Regions from separate parts of the Homo sapiens genome. Here all the other regions are linked to region 1. The links are contacts of gene promoters, found by promoter capture Hi-C in human tissues and cell types (Jung and others, 2019). All regions are on one chromosome and are shown on one strand. Each heading gives the region's core, a stretch centred on a gene start or on the middle of the fragment in contact. The rest is flanking DNA. Distances are from core to core; before and after follow the strand shown.

Region 1 (3,516 bases), core at 1,001-3,500:
ACCACAGGGTTTCCAGGCCGACGCACTGAAGGTGGCTCACCCTGCGGAAGCTGCATGATGGCCACACTCAGGCCGGATAACAGGTCACCCAGGAGCCAGTCACGCACAGGATACCGGGGTAACCAGACCAAAACCGGGAGGTGTTGGAGCAGAAGGGCATAGGCCCGAGCACGGGAGCACCTAGGGACATGATATGAGGGGTAGGTGTCAGGAACAGGGGCTACCTGGGCCCCGCCAGCGCCCCCAGGCCCCAATCTTGGCCTTACTGCAACCAGGTCCGCCACTGGTGGGTCCTAGGTGCTGAGCCCCAGCGCCCCAGCTCCTCCAAATGCTCCTGGTTCAGCAGCGGCCGTTCCATGTGGTAGTCTCGCCTCCGCAGGTCCATTGCTTGTGTTGCAGACAGCAGTGCCTGTGTGTCCCTCGGTCTGGGGTGGCAAGACCAGAGAGACACAGTGAAGGCATCCCTGGCCCAACCTCCCCTACACCTCCACCTAGGACCAGAGAGTTACCTACCTGATTTTTCCAGGCCCTAAGATCAAGGTACAGTATTCCAGCCCCCAGCTGGCATCTGTGGGCCACATGTCCAAACTCAGACAGGGGCAGTACCTGAACTTTGGCTGGTGAGAAAGCCTCTTTCTAGGACAAAGTCCCCCAAGTAGGGACTGCAGGATGAGCACTAGCTATACCTCCAGCCGAGATGTGGCAGCCCAGTGCTGAGTGTTCTACCAGTCCAGGTCCCAGGCTGCTCCCTCCCCCACCCAGTCCCTCTCCAGTCCCCAGGTCCTCCTCCAGCTGCCCCGGGAGCCCACTGCTGGCTGAGAGCACACTCAGGGAAGGGGTCCAGCAAACCAGGGGTCCAGCTCCTCAAGCAACTCCTTTCCCAAGCCTCAGGCCTCAGATGAGACCCTCCCCTCTAAGGGAAGGAAAGTGTTGGAGCCAAGCTTGCCCCTGGGCCTCCAGCCCCAGGGTCCAGGTTGTAGACGGCTCAGGCCTGTTATGGGGAAGCCAAGGACTGGCTCTCACCTGAGAAGGAGCTTGCTCTTGGAGTGGCAATCTCTCACCTAGAGGGAGAGGCTCCCACATGGAAAGGGAAGTACCCACTTGAAGTGGGGGAAAGAGCTCACCTGGGAATAGAAGCTTTCAAGGGGAATCTCACCTAGAGGGATCTCTGACCTACCAGGGAATCTTTATCAGCCTGGCAAGTTCTGATACAGGGGGAATCTTCCCTCTGCCCAGAGGCACCTACTTGAAGTCAGAGAAAGATCTCACATGGGAAGAAAAGACCTAGAGGGAGAGGGTTCTCACCTGGGGGGTACTCTCCCATAGAGAAAGCTCTGACCTCGGGCGAGGCTCCCACGTGGAATGGGGAAAAGCTGTCACCTGGGAATAGATCTCACAGAAGGATCTTACCTGGGGGAAAACTCTAGCCTGTTGGGGAAGCTTTCACCAGTCAGGAAAGTTCTGATCTAGGAAAAGCCCTGACCTGGGGAGAGGATCCCATTTGAGGGACAGGAACTCACCTGGGAAGCGCCTCTAACCTGGCTGTACTGTTGGAGGAGTGTGGAGTGGGTGCAAGGAAGATCCTCAGAGACTCTTGGGACCGCTATCTCAAGGAGATCGTAGAGCCCCCTCTCCTTTCCTACGTGAGTCACTCAGGTCTTCTTAAAGGGCTCCCTCCCCCGACAACTTGGGACCCGCGTTTGGAGGGCGGAGCCTTGATCATTGGCCCCTCCCTGTAGGAAGGCAACTGGGGCCAGAAAGGCCGGAGCGCTCACTCCGGGATCAGTGGAGCTGGGTGGACTCGGGACTCAGCTGAAAGCAGCTAGTCCACGGGCCGCTGCCAGGGACTCCCGTGCCCCACGCACCCCCGCCGGCACATCTCCTGGCCGGGCTCCTCCGCACGCAGCTGCCTCCCTGTGGCCCGGGATGGCCCTCGGGCGTCACACCAGCGGCTTTCCGCACAGCCCAAGGGACTGGGGTCGCGCCGGCTCCCGCCCCCACCCCTTGCTGCAGAGGGGCAGCCGCCTGCAGAAAATCAGCAGAGGTAAACCGAGGCGTCGCAAGCGGAGAATGCCTGCTCCAGCGAGGCGTCGCAAGCGGAGAATGCCTGCTCCAGCGAGGCGCTCGCGCGGGGCCACCGGGAATGTGCGCTGAACTCACCCCGACGCATCCGCCAGCCCCATGGCTCGCAAGTTGTCCGGTGCGGGCTGCTCCTGCTGCTCGAGCTAGAGGCCGCTACGCTCCGGAAGGCGGCGCCGGGACCGGGTGAGGCCAGCTGCGCTCTCCCGGGGGCTAATCCCGGGGCAGGACGGGGAGGCTTGGGCCAATCAGCGCGCTGGGGCGGGGCCTAAGTGGCGCGCGCCGGGCGGGGAGAGACTGGAGAAGGAGGATTTAACCGCTTCCTCCCCGGCGACCTGGCCTATGAGGCCTCTCGCTGCTCGCCCGGCCCTCTGCCCGGAGCTGGATGGGACTGCAGAACTGGAACTAAGCACCCGCGCCGGGCTGGCCGCAGTCGCGCCCCCAGGCCCTGAGTAGGTTGGAGCTGATCCCAGGTCCTGGCTCGGCGGAAGGTGCTCACGGAGTGGGAAAAGGAAACTCCACTGGCCGGTGACCCCAGCCTTAACTCGTAGGGGATCCAGGTCTGTGGGGCCTCTCTTGCCTTCAGCTGAGAGCGCCACCCGCAGGCTTTCTGCGACTACGCATCTCTTTGAGACCCGGAGCCAACGGTCCCCAAGTCCTCCCCTTTAACTCTGGCCACCCAGGCCAGAAATGGTTGGAGGATCCCCTCCGCTGCACTAAGCACAGCCCGGACGTAGCTCCCAGAAGGTTACTGCGCGGGCCGCCGAGGAGAATGGTGGGGGTCAGTGCTGTTGGGTGGGCGTCAGTGCTGTTGGGTGGGCAAGGCAGGAACTGCAAGAGCAGTTCCTCAGGTTGGTTTCACCGCAGGTGAGGGCAAAAAATGCCGGGTCAGGGCTGCAGACCCTGAAGAATTAGGAAGTCCTGTTGCCGTTGCCTTGACCAGCGGGGAGGTTTTCCTTAGCACCTTATTTTCAGCACCTGTGCTCCAACATCAGGCCCCAATTACAAAGTGAGGGGCCAGATTTCAAGGTGAAAGAGATCTGCCATGAAATGGGCTAAAAATAGCTGGATATTCTTGGGAGGGGCTCAGATTCCTCCCAAAGGTCAGTCTGGCTTGAATCATTCACAGCTTCCATCCTACCTCCCCAGCCCCCAACAGGAAAAGGCAACAACTGTTTTCTATAGAAGTTTATTCCCAAAACAGAGCGCGGCTTCACGGAACAATTTACACAGACAGGAAAGAGGGCCGCTGGGCTGGAGGAGGGGAACCCCAGAGAGGGGCATCTACGAAACCTAGGACATAGTAAAGACACCCTCCCACCCCCAGCAGGCCACTCAGCCCTTCAAGAGCTGGGGTCCTTCTCGGTAAGGAGAGTTTGGGTCCTGGCTGGTGGGATTTAGCTCCAGTCAGGGAAGTAGAATTTCTAATCTCCCAGG
Region 2 (3,865 bases), core at 1,344-3,843, 300 kb after region 1:
AGCCCTGGCTAACACAGTGAAAAACCTGTCTTTACTAAAAATACAAAAAATTAGCCAGGCGTGGTGGTGGGCACCTGTAGTCCCAGCTACTCAGGAGGCTGAGGCAGGAGAATGGCGTGAACCCAGGAGGCGGAGCTTGCAGTGAGCTGAGATCGTGTCACTGTACTCCAGCCTGGGTGACAGAGCAAGACTCTGTCTAAAAAAGAAAAAGAAAAATCACAATTGTCTGGGACACTGGGCTTTTAGTTTAATGAGGGCCCTGATGTCAGAGGGTAACTTCCTGTATATGTTCTGGGACCAGTCTATGAGTAAAGTCATTATTGAGAGAGGAAGGTGCCCAGAAAATCAGATCAAGGGCTCAAGATAGAGAACAGAGAAAATGCTTATCTGTTAGTGTGGTGGGGAAGCTGCTGGCATTCAAATAGTGGCAAAACAGAAGCATTATTTGAGAATGAACTATCCTACACAAATCACAAATGGAATAGTCAAATGAGATGAAATGATTGCCAAGTGAGGTGTTGTGTTGTAGGAGGAGGGGATCTCTGGGGAATAAGTAATTTTAGTGATCATGTATGAGTCTTTAAAGAAAACAAAGTTACCTTTTTCTACAGTGTATTTTTATATGAGACTTATACAAAGATTATTTTGTCTTTATAGATGAAAGAGGTCCTTCTTGTAACCATAAGCATTTTTATTACAAAATGTGCAGTAGTTAGCCAATAATTTTTTTCAGTTATTCAGTGAGTCCTTTTAATTACCATTCCATGGAACTCTTGAGATATTTGCTGACAAGCTGCTCAGGAAGAGGCTCAGCCAGAGCCCCAGACAAAGCCCAGGCAGGATCATGACTGTGGAGCTGGCTTTGGTTTGTGATGGGTCAAGAGTCTTTTTCTCCTAGTGCCCTCATCTTAGCATCATGTTAGGGGTGTGGGCAGGAGAAGTGAATGTTGTTCAGGGACCCACCCCATTGCTTCAGGAGGGGAAAGAAATAGGCCACTTTGAGCTAGATCTAGTCCAGGAGGTGTAGTGAGCTACCTGAGCTTTGTGTTGAGGCCAGAGGACCTTGAAGGTGGTGTAGAAGGGCAATGCAGGTTATAGAAGTCCTGGCTCCACAGGGCAATGGGCATGGGAGTGGGAGGGTTATCTTCTGGGCTGGAATGAGGGTCAAAGATGTATAGGTAGAAAGGAATATTATGATTGTAGCCTCAAGCATCTTTGCTGTTGGTGGAAAGGAATAGGTTTTGTAAACTATAGGAATAGGTTTTTAATAGGATTTTTTGTTTTTGAGACAGCGCCTCACTCTGGCACTCAGGTTGGAGTGCAGTGGCACGATGTTGGCTAACTGCAGCCTCCAACTCCCAGGCTCAAACAATCCTACTTCAGCCTCCCAAATAGCTGGGACCACAGGTGCGCACCACATGCCCGGGTGTGTGTGTGTGTGTGTGTGTGTGTGTGTGTGTGTGTGTGTGTGTGTGTGTGATCACAGGTGCGCACCACATGCCCGGGGGTGTGTGTGTGTGTGTGTGTGTTTTTGGTAGAGACGGGGTTTTGCCATGTTACCCAGGCTGGTCTCAAACTCCAGAGTTCAGACAATCCACCCACTTCAGCCTCCCAAAGTGCTGGGGTTACAGGCGTGAGCCACCACACTGAGCCTAGGATTTTAAATAGGTATTTAAATAGATTTTTAAAACTTATTCAGCACATGTGTGGCATAGTGAAGTATATTGCTCACTTTTTTTTTTTTTTTTTTTTTTAGTTGAGACGGACTCTCGCTGTGTCACCCAGGCTGGAGTGCAGTGGCACGATCTCGGTTCACTGCAAGCTCCGCCTACCGGGTTCATACCATTCTCCTGCCTCAGCCTCCCAAGTAGCTGGGACTACAGGTGCCCGCCACCACACCCGGCTAAATTTTTTTGTATTTTTAGTAGAGACGGGCTTTCACCTTGTTTGCCAGGATGGTCTCGATCTCCTGACCTCATGATCCACCCGCCTCAGCCTCCCAACGTGCTGGGATTACAGGTGTGAGCCACCGCGCCTGTCCCTATTGCTCACTTTTTAAGCCTGTTCCCCAGATAGGATTGGAGAAATATGCCAATTATCACAAATGTTTTTACTACATTTCTTCTTGCTTTATGAATTGCTGTATTAACTGCAGTAAAGCTATGAAAATATTTCCTAGAACACTCTATTCTGCCATACTCTTTTGTGAATTTTTTTAAAAATCTGGTGTTTGCTCTTTAGCAAAATGTGACTGGAAAATCTCTCTAAGATTCTGCTGTGGATAATTTTTCCCCTCTGTAGATGAATAGTAATGAGTTGTCAGGGCTTCTGACTCTTAAGTGCCGAAGTCTTTATAGTCCTGTGTTCAAAACAACCTGGCTTTTTTGCCTTTTTCACTTGTAACGTGATCAATTGGTGTTCATAACAACAAAATACATTATTTTAGCCATTTTCTTAATTGGTACTAAATACTTATATAATGCCAAGTTAAAAGATAACAAGTATCTGGTGAAAACTTTAATTATTAAATCAATTTTCTTTTATTCTGATATAGCTGAATTTTAAGATCATTCTATTTTTATTTACTTACAGTCATTAATTGACCAATAATGGTTTGTTGTTGTTGTTGTTATTATTGTTGCTACTACTCATGGGAAAGTATCTTCAAGCTGGGCCTGGTTACACTGAGTGTTTGTGTGCTGAGCAGCCCTCTGATTTCTATTTTTGTGATCTGATGTGAGCTGTCTTTGCATGCCTCTATCTAAGTAGAACTTAGGTTAAATTCCTGCGTTTCAAATAGCTGGCCGTTAATAGGTTTGTTAACATGTTTCACAGTGTTTTAGTCCAGAAGTCTGAGGTGTGTTTACTGATGTGTAAATTCATTTTTAAAAGGCGATGAGAAATGTCCAGAGTGACATTGAGAATGGCCTAAATACAAATGGTGCAAAGATGTCCTTGTCTTGCCAGCTTAGAAAAGTTATTGTCATCGCTGTGTACCTGATACCATACAAAACATGCTCATCATCTTCCAGAAAAGAAGCTCTTCATCAGATTCAAGGCCAGCTTTCATTCTAGTCTTTTTGTTGTGCTTTCTGTCTACCTCAGGAAACATGGAAGTCATGTGTAATCAAGGGGTGATACGGTATTTGTGTGTGTTTGTTTTTTTTTGACATTTATATTTTAATCTTGAGTTTATAAATTTTTTTGTCAAGATGTTACTACAGTATTTAAGAAAATAATATCATTCATGTTTTCATTAACCTAAAATAAGTTTTCTTGCTTGCTTATCATCCTTCAGCTCTTGTCCATATTCATACATAGCATTATTGTTCAGTATTTCATTCAACCAATATTGGGTATTTATTGAGAACCTACTACGCCTCCTGTTATGTTCCTGTGCCAGGCACATAACAGGAAAAATAACTGTAAACAAAACAGACAAAAATCTCTGCCCTGGTAGACATTGCATTATAATAATCAGTAGATATATGTATTTTATGCATTCTGCTTTTTTCATGTATATTTCAAACATTTCCCCATTTTTACTTTGTCCTCATAAATACTTTAAATGGCTGTGTAGCATGCCATCTTGTTTTTGAACTGTAATTTGCTTAAGCTTTCTGCATTGGGCATTTAAGTGAGTACCTATGTATTACAGTTGTTGGGGGACTGGTTACATTGTTGTGAATGTCTTTATGGATATGACTTTTATGTCTGTTGGGCCTTGTCCAGAGTCTGGGCTAGTGGTCAGATGATTGGGTTCCAGTCCCATTTTTTCCATTTAATATAATATGACCTCAGATAAGTCTGTCAGCATCTCTATGCTTGAGTTTCCTCATCTGTAAAATAATGATAACACCTCCTT
Region 3 (3,884 bases), core at 1,106-3,605, 350 kb before region 1:
TCTTTAATCTTAATAAGTGTTTTATGTAATTTTAAGTAAAATGTACACAAATGAAGAAATAGAAAATGAATTTACTATTTAGTAGTAAATCACAAATTTGTTAAAACAAATACATCTAACCATCTTATGTCATTTCATATGGGTATAAATAACATTTTTAAATGTTGGAAGTTATTCTCTTATAGGAAATAATGATCATATGGAAGCTAGTTTTGTGTCTGGCAGATAGTAGTTGCATAACGGCTTGTATTTTTTTTTTTTTTTTCACTACCAAACCTACCTTTGGAAGATGAACCAGTCCTTGAAGCCCAGCTCCCAATCCAGGCTTTTTCCTTTCTGCCTCATTAACCTTGTCCAATCAGGTCTTTGACAGTCATTAAGTCATTAAAGCTGTGATTTCTCCTTCTCCTGGGAGTCTATATTGTTTCTGTTGAGCCGGCCAGAAGGGAACTGAGATCTCTTTATGTGAAAAACCCTGAAAGGGAGAATCCTGTGACATACATGAGCATTCTCAGTACAAGCATGTAAAACATCCGTGAACCGTTATACAGTCTGCAGTGGGAGCCATAACAGGACTCTGGATTGGCTCAAAAGCCCCACTTGGCTGGGCACAGTGGCTCACATCTGTAATCCCAGCACTTTGGGAGGCCAAGGTGGGCGGATCACTTGAGGTCAGGAGTTCGAGACCAGCCTGGCCAACATAGTGAAACCCCATCTCTGCCAGCTGATCTGTTCCCAAGCAAAGAAGAGAGACTACCAAATATATGATGCTGGTAACAATAGCATGCCTATCTTATAGATGAGCAAATAAAAACAAATGTAGATAACTTGGCCATGTTCACACAGCTAATAAGTAATGGTACTTGGCTATAGCCTGGGATTCTGGAAACATCTGGAGTCTGGGTCTGAGAGGCTGTTCTGTTCAATTCCTTGCCCCCAGGCAGCCTGGTTCTTCAAATTCCTCTGGTCTCCTAAAATCTGACTAATTCTGGCCTGGTGTGGTGGCTCATGCCTGTAATCCCAGCACTTTGGAAGGCTGATGTGGGTCGATCACCTGAGATCAGGAGTTCGAGACCAGCCTGGCCAACATGGTGAAACCCTATCTCTACTAAAAATACAAAAATTAGCCAGGCGAGGTGGCTGGCACCTGTAATCCCAGCTACTCAGGAGGCTGAGGCAGGAGAATCACTACTCAGGAGGCAGAGGTTGCAGTGAGCCGAGATCATGCCACTGCACTCCAGCCTTGGCGACAGAGCAAGACTCTGTCTCAAAAAAAAAAAAAAATTCGAATTCTGATACAAGCAAGATTTAGGTGTCTGCTACACCAGACCCATCTCCAGAGACCTCTCAGGTGAGGATTACAACGTGGCCTATTGACATTTTCCAAGCTGGAAACCTCTATGATAAGGCACTGCAGAAATAGTACCTGGTAAACATTTGTACTTCTTATCCCTGGAACATTGGATCCTTCCAGCTTAGAATTCCTTGTTAGTGGGGGCAGAGTGGGGAGATGTTTCTACCAAAGAGCACAGGCAGTGTCTGCTAAACTAATGTTGTTACTAACTTGGTCATTCTGGCTTTCCCACGATGGTAGGCTGGCAGGAAAAGGGAGGAGCCATTATACTTACGTAGGTCATTGACCCTGATTATCATGCATTGGTGATGTTGCTACTCAAGTATATCTGAACCCAGGAGGTTCTGTGAATGCTTCCATACCCAGGCATAACCATCAGTGGGCACTTGCAGCAATCGCAGCTCTCTATCAGGGTAAGTCAGCTAAGGGATCTGACCTCTTGGAAGTGAAAGTCTGTTTTCCCAGTAGGTAAGCATCTTCGACCTGTAAAGGTTGGCTCTGGGGGCAGGAACTATAATATGGTTGATAAAGGAGGGAGGTAATAAGAATCAATTATGGCTTCAGGCCCAGTTGTAATGGTGGGAAATGTTATCTTTTCCACTAATCCACTTATATTGAGTCTTAAGTAGAGATCGCGGCTCACTAGGTTCTTGCCTGACTCTCTGATATGCTGAGCTACATGCAGAGCTGGCGCATGGGCAGACCCAAACACAGGCAGGGGAGGATGGCACTGAACAACTTTTATGCCCCATCTCACGTCCTCTTGGCCCACATTCCTACCCTGACCGTAGCTGCACTCAGGTGAAATCAAAGACCTCCTCACCGTTTCTCTCATGCTCCTTCTAGGAGCTTCTCTGCTGATGCAGTGTGGGAAGCCTGCAAGAGCCCCTCAGCCTTTCTGGCATATGCAAGTCTGGGACTGCAAATGGGTTAGGTCTCCCTGGCAAATCACTGACAACGGATGATGAAACCATTGGACAAACAACCAGCCTCCTAGGCTTTGGTGGGAGACAGAGGACCACCAACTAGATTGAAGCCCATTGTCCACAGTGGTAACCAGCTCAATACCCTATGCTTGGGATGGCCTTCCCTTCTCCTTTCTTTTACTCTCTTAGTGTCCTGATGCCTGTTTTCTGAGACCCCTTCCTAAAATAAACTACTTGCACACAAGTCGCCATCTCATGCTCTGCTTTTGGGAGGCCTTGAAGCGTAGTGTATTAGTCTGTTCTCATGCTGCTAGTAAAGCATACCTGAGACTGGGCAATTTATAAAGAAAAGAAGTTGAATTGACTCACAGTTCACATGGCTGGGGAGGCCTCACAATCATGGCTGAAGGCAAATGAGGAGCAAAGTCATGTCTTACATGGTGGCAGGCAAGAGAGCTTGCATAGGGGAAATTCCGTTTATAAAACCATCAGGTCTTATGAGACTTACTTACTGTCACAAGAATAGCACAGGAAAGACCCAACCCAAGATTCAATTACCTCCCACCAGGTCCCTCCCACAACATGTAGGAATTATGGGAGCTACAATTCAAGATGAGATTTGGGTGGGGACACAGCCAAACCATATCACATAGACACAAGAGCTATTGAGACAAGTGTAAGCCTGTGACTCCTGGGACCACTAAACCAGAGGAAGAGCTCTCACCTGAATTATAATTTGTGTTGGGAGGGTTCCCTTTCAAATTTATATTCTGTGGGAACTCATAATCTCAGTTGTCTTCTTACTCTCCTGTATCCTCTGTTCCTCTCTTTTGGCAAAGAACTAGAGCCTATAAATCAATTTGTATTTTACCAGTCCTTCAAAATGTCCATAAGTTGCCAAATTTCCCTAAACTTGACATATTTCTCCTTAAGTCATAATTAAACTTAACAGTCTATACTCATTGTCTTTGTTTCCTTAAATCCAAGTTCTCCATTTTCTTGCCATTTTTCACTTACAGGATCATCTAAAATTTGTGGGTGAGGTTTCTTTACATTGGAAATTTGTAGGGAAACCCCACCTGGAACATCCAAAGATGGGAAAGAGTTGGGGGTCAGAGCCATGGATAAGATACGAACGTCCCAGATTGAGACTATTTAGGAAAAACATGTCTAGTATCTGGGAAGAGATGTTATTTTGAGAGAGAAAAAAGCCACTCAACTGTGGTTGCACTGCCAGAGACCCGGTTACCACCCAGTCATCCATAGCACAGAAAGTCCCCCACTTACAGTGGTTTGACTTCCATTTTTCAACTTTATGATGGTATGAAAATTATAGTACTCAGTAGAAACTGTACTTAGAATTTTGAATTTTGATCTTTTCCCAGGCTAGCAATATGCAATGTGATACTCTCATGATGCTGGGCAGTGGCAGTGAGCCATAGCTCCCAGGCAGCCACACGTTACAAGGGTAAACGATGGACGCTACAGTTCACTGTGCTGCCCGATAATTTTGCCCAACCATAGACTAGTATTTTGTTTGTTTGTTTGCTTTTGTGGCAGTGTCTCACTCTGTCACTCAGGCTGGAGTGCAGTGGTGCAATCTT

What was found. Contacts are between HindIII fragments. The study calls those that stand out against the background at their distance.
Region 2: a fragment that was not itself captured here is called in contact with the fragment with the promoter of SLC26A6 in region 1 in 1 of the 25 tissues and cell types used here (liver).
Region 3: a fragment that was not itself captured here is called in contact with the fragment with the promoter of SLC26A6 in region 1 in 1 of the 25 tissues and cell types used here (IMR-90 fibroblasts).

What each region holds. Positions count from the first base shown.
Region 1 is chr3:48,633,211-48,636,726 of GRCh38, forward strand. SLC26A6 (solute carrier family 26 member 6) reads right to left here and starts at 2,251. Exons shown (of 21, transcript NM_022911.3): 1 at 2,161-2,251; 2 at 267-425; 3 at 41-180. The coding sequence starts at 2,183. CELSR3 (cadherin EGF LAG seven-pass G-type receptor 3) reads right to left here. Exons shown (of 35, transcript NM_001407.3): 35 at 3,253-3,516. It overlaps MIR6824 (microRNA 6824), which reads right to left and starts at 488; the gene lies at 426-488. RefSeq lists silencers at 1,690-1,789, 2,180-2,459. The HindIII fragment of the contact is 9,287 bases long and covers 1,289-3,516 here.
Region 2 is chr3:48,931,810-48,935,674 of GRCh38, forward strand. All of the region lies in intron 3 of ARIH2 (ariadne RBR E3 ubiquitin protein ligase 2), which reads left to right. Among named protein-coding and RNA genes, the nearest start is that of ARIH2OS, 14 kb to the left of the region's middle. The HindIII fragment of the contact is 3,938 bases long and covers 625-3,865 here.
Region 3 is chr3:48,280,649-48,284,532 of GRCh38, forward strand. No RefSeq gene overlaps it. Among named protein-coding and RNA genes, the nearest start is that of NME6, 19 kb to the right of the region's middle. The HindIII fragment of the contact is 8,358 bases long and covers 1-3,884 here.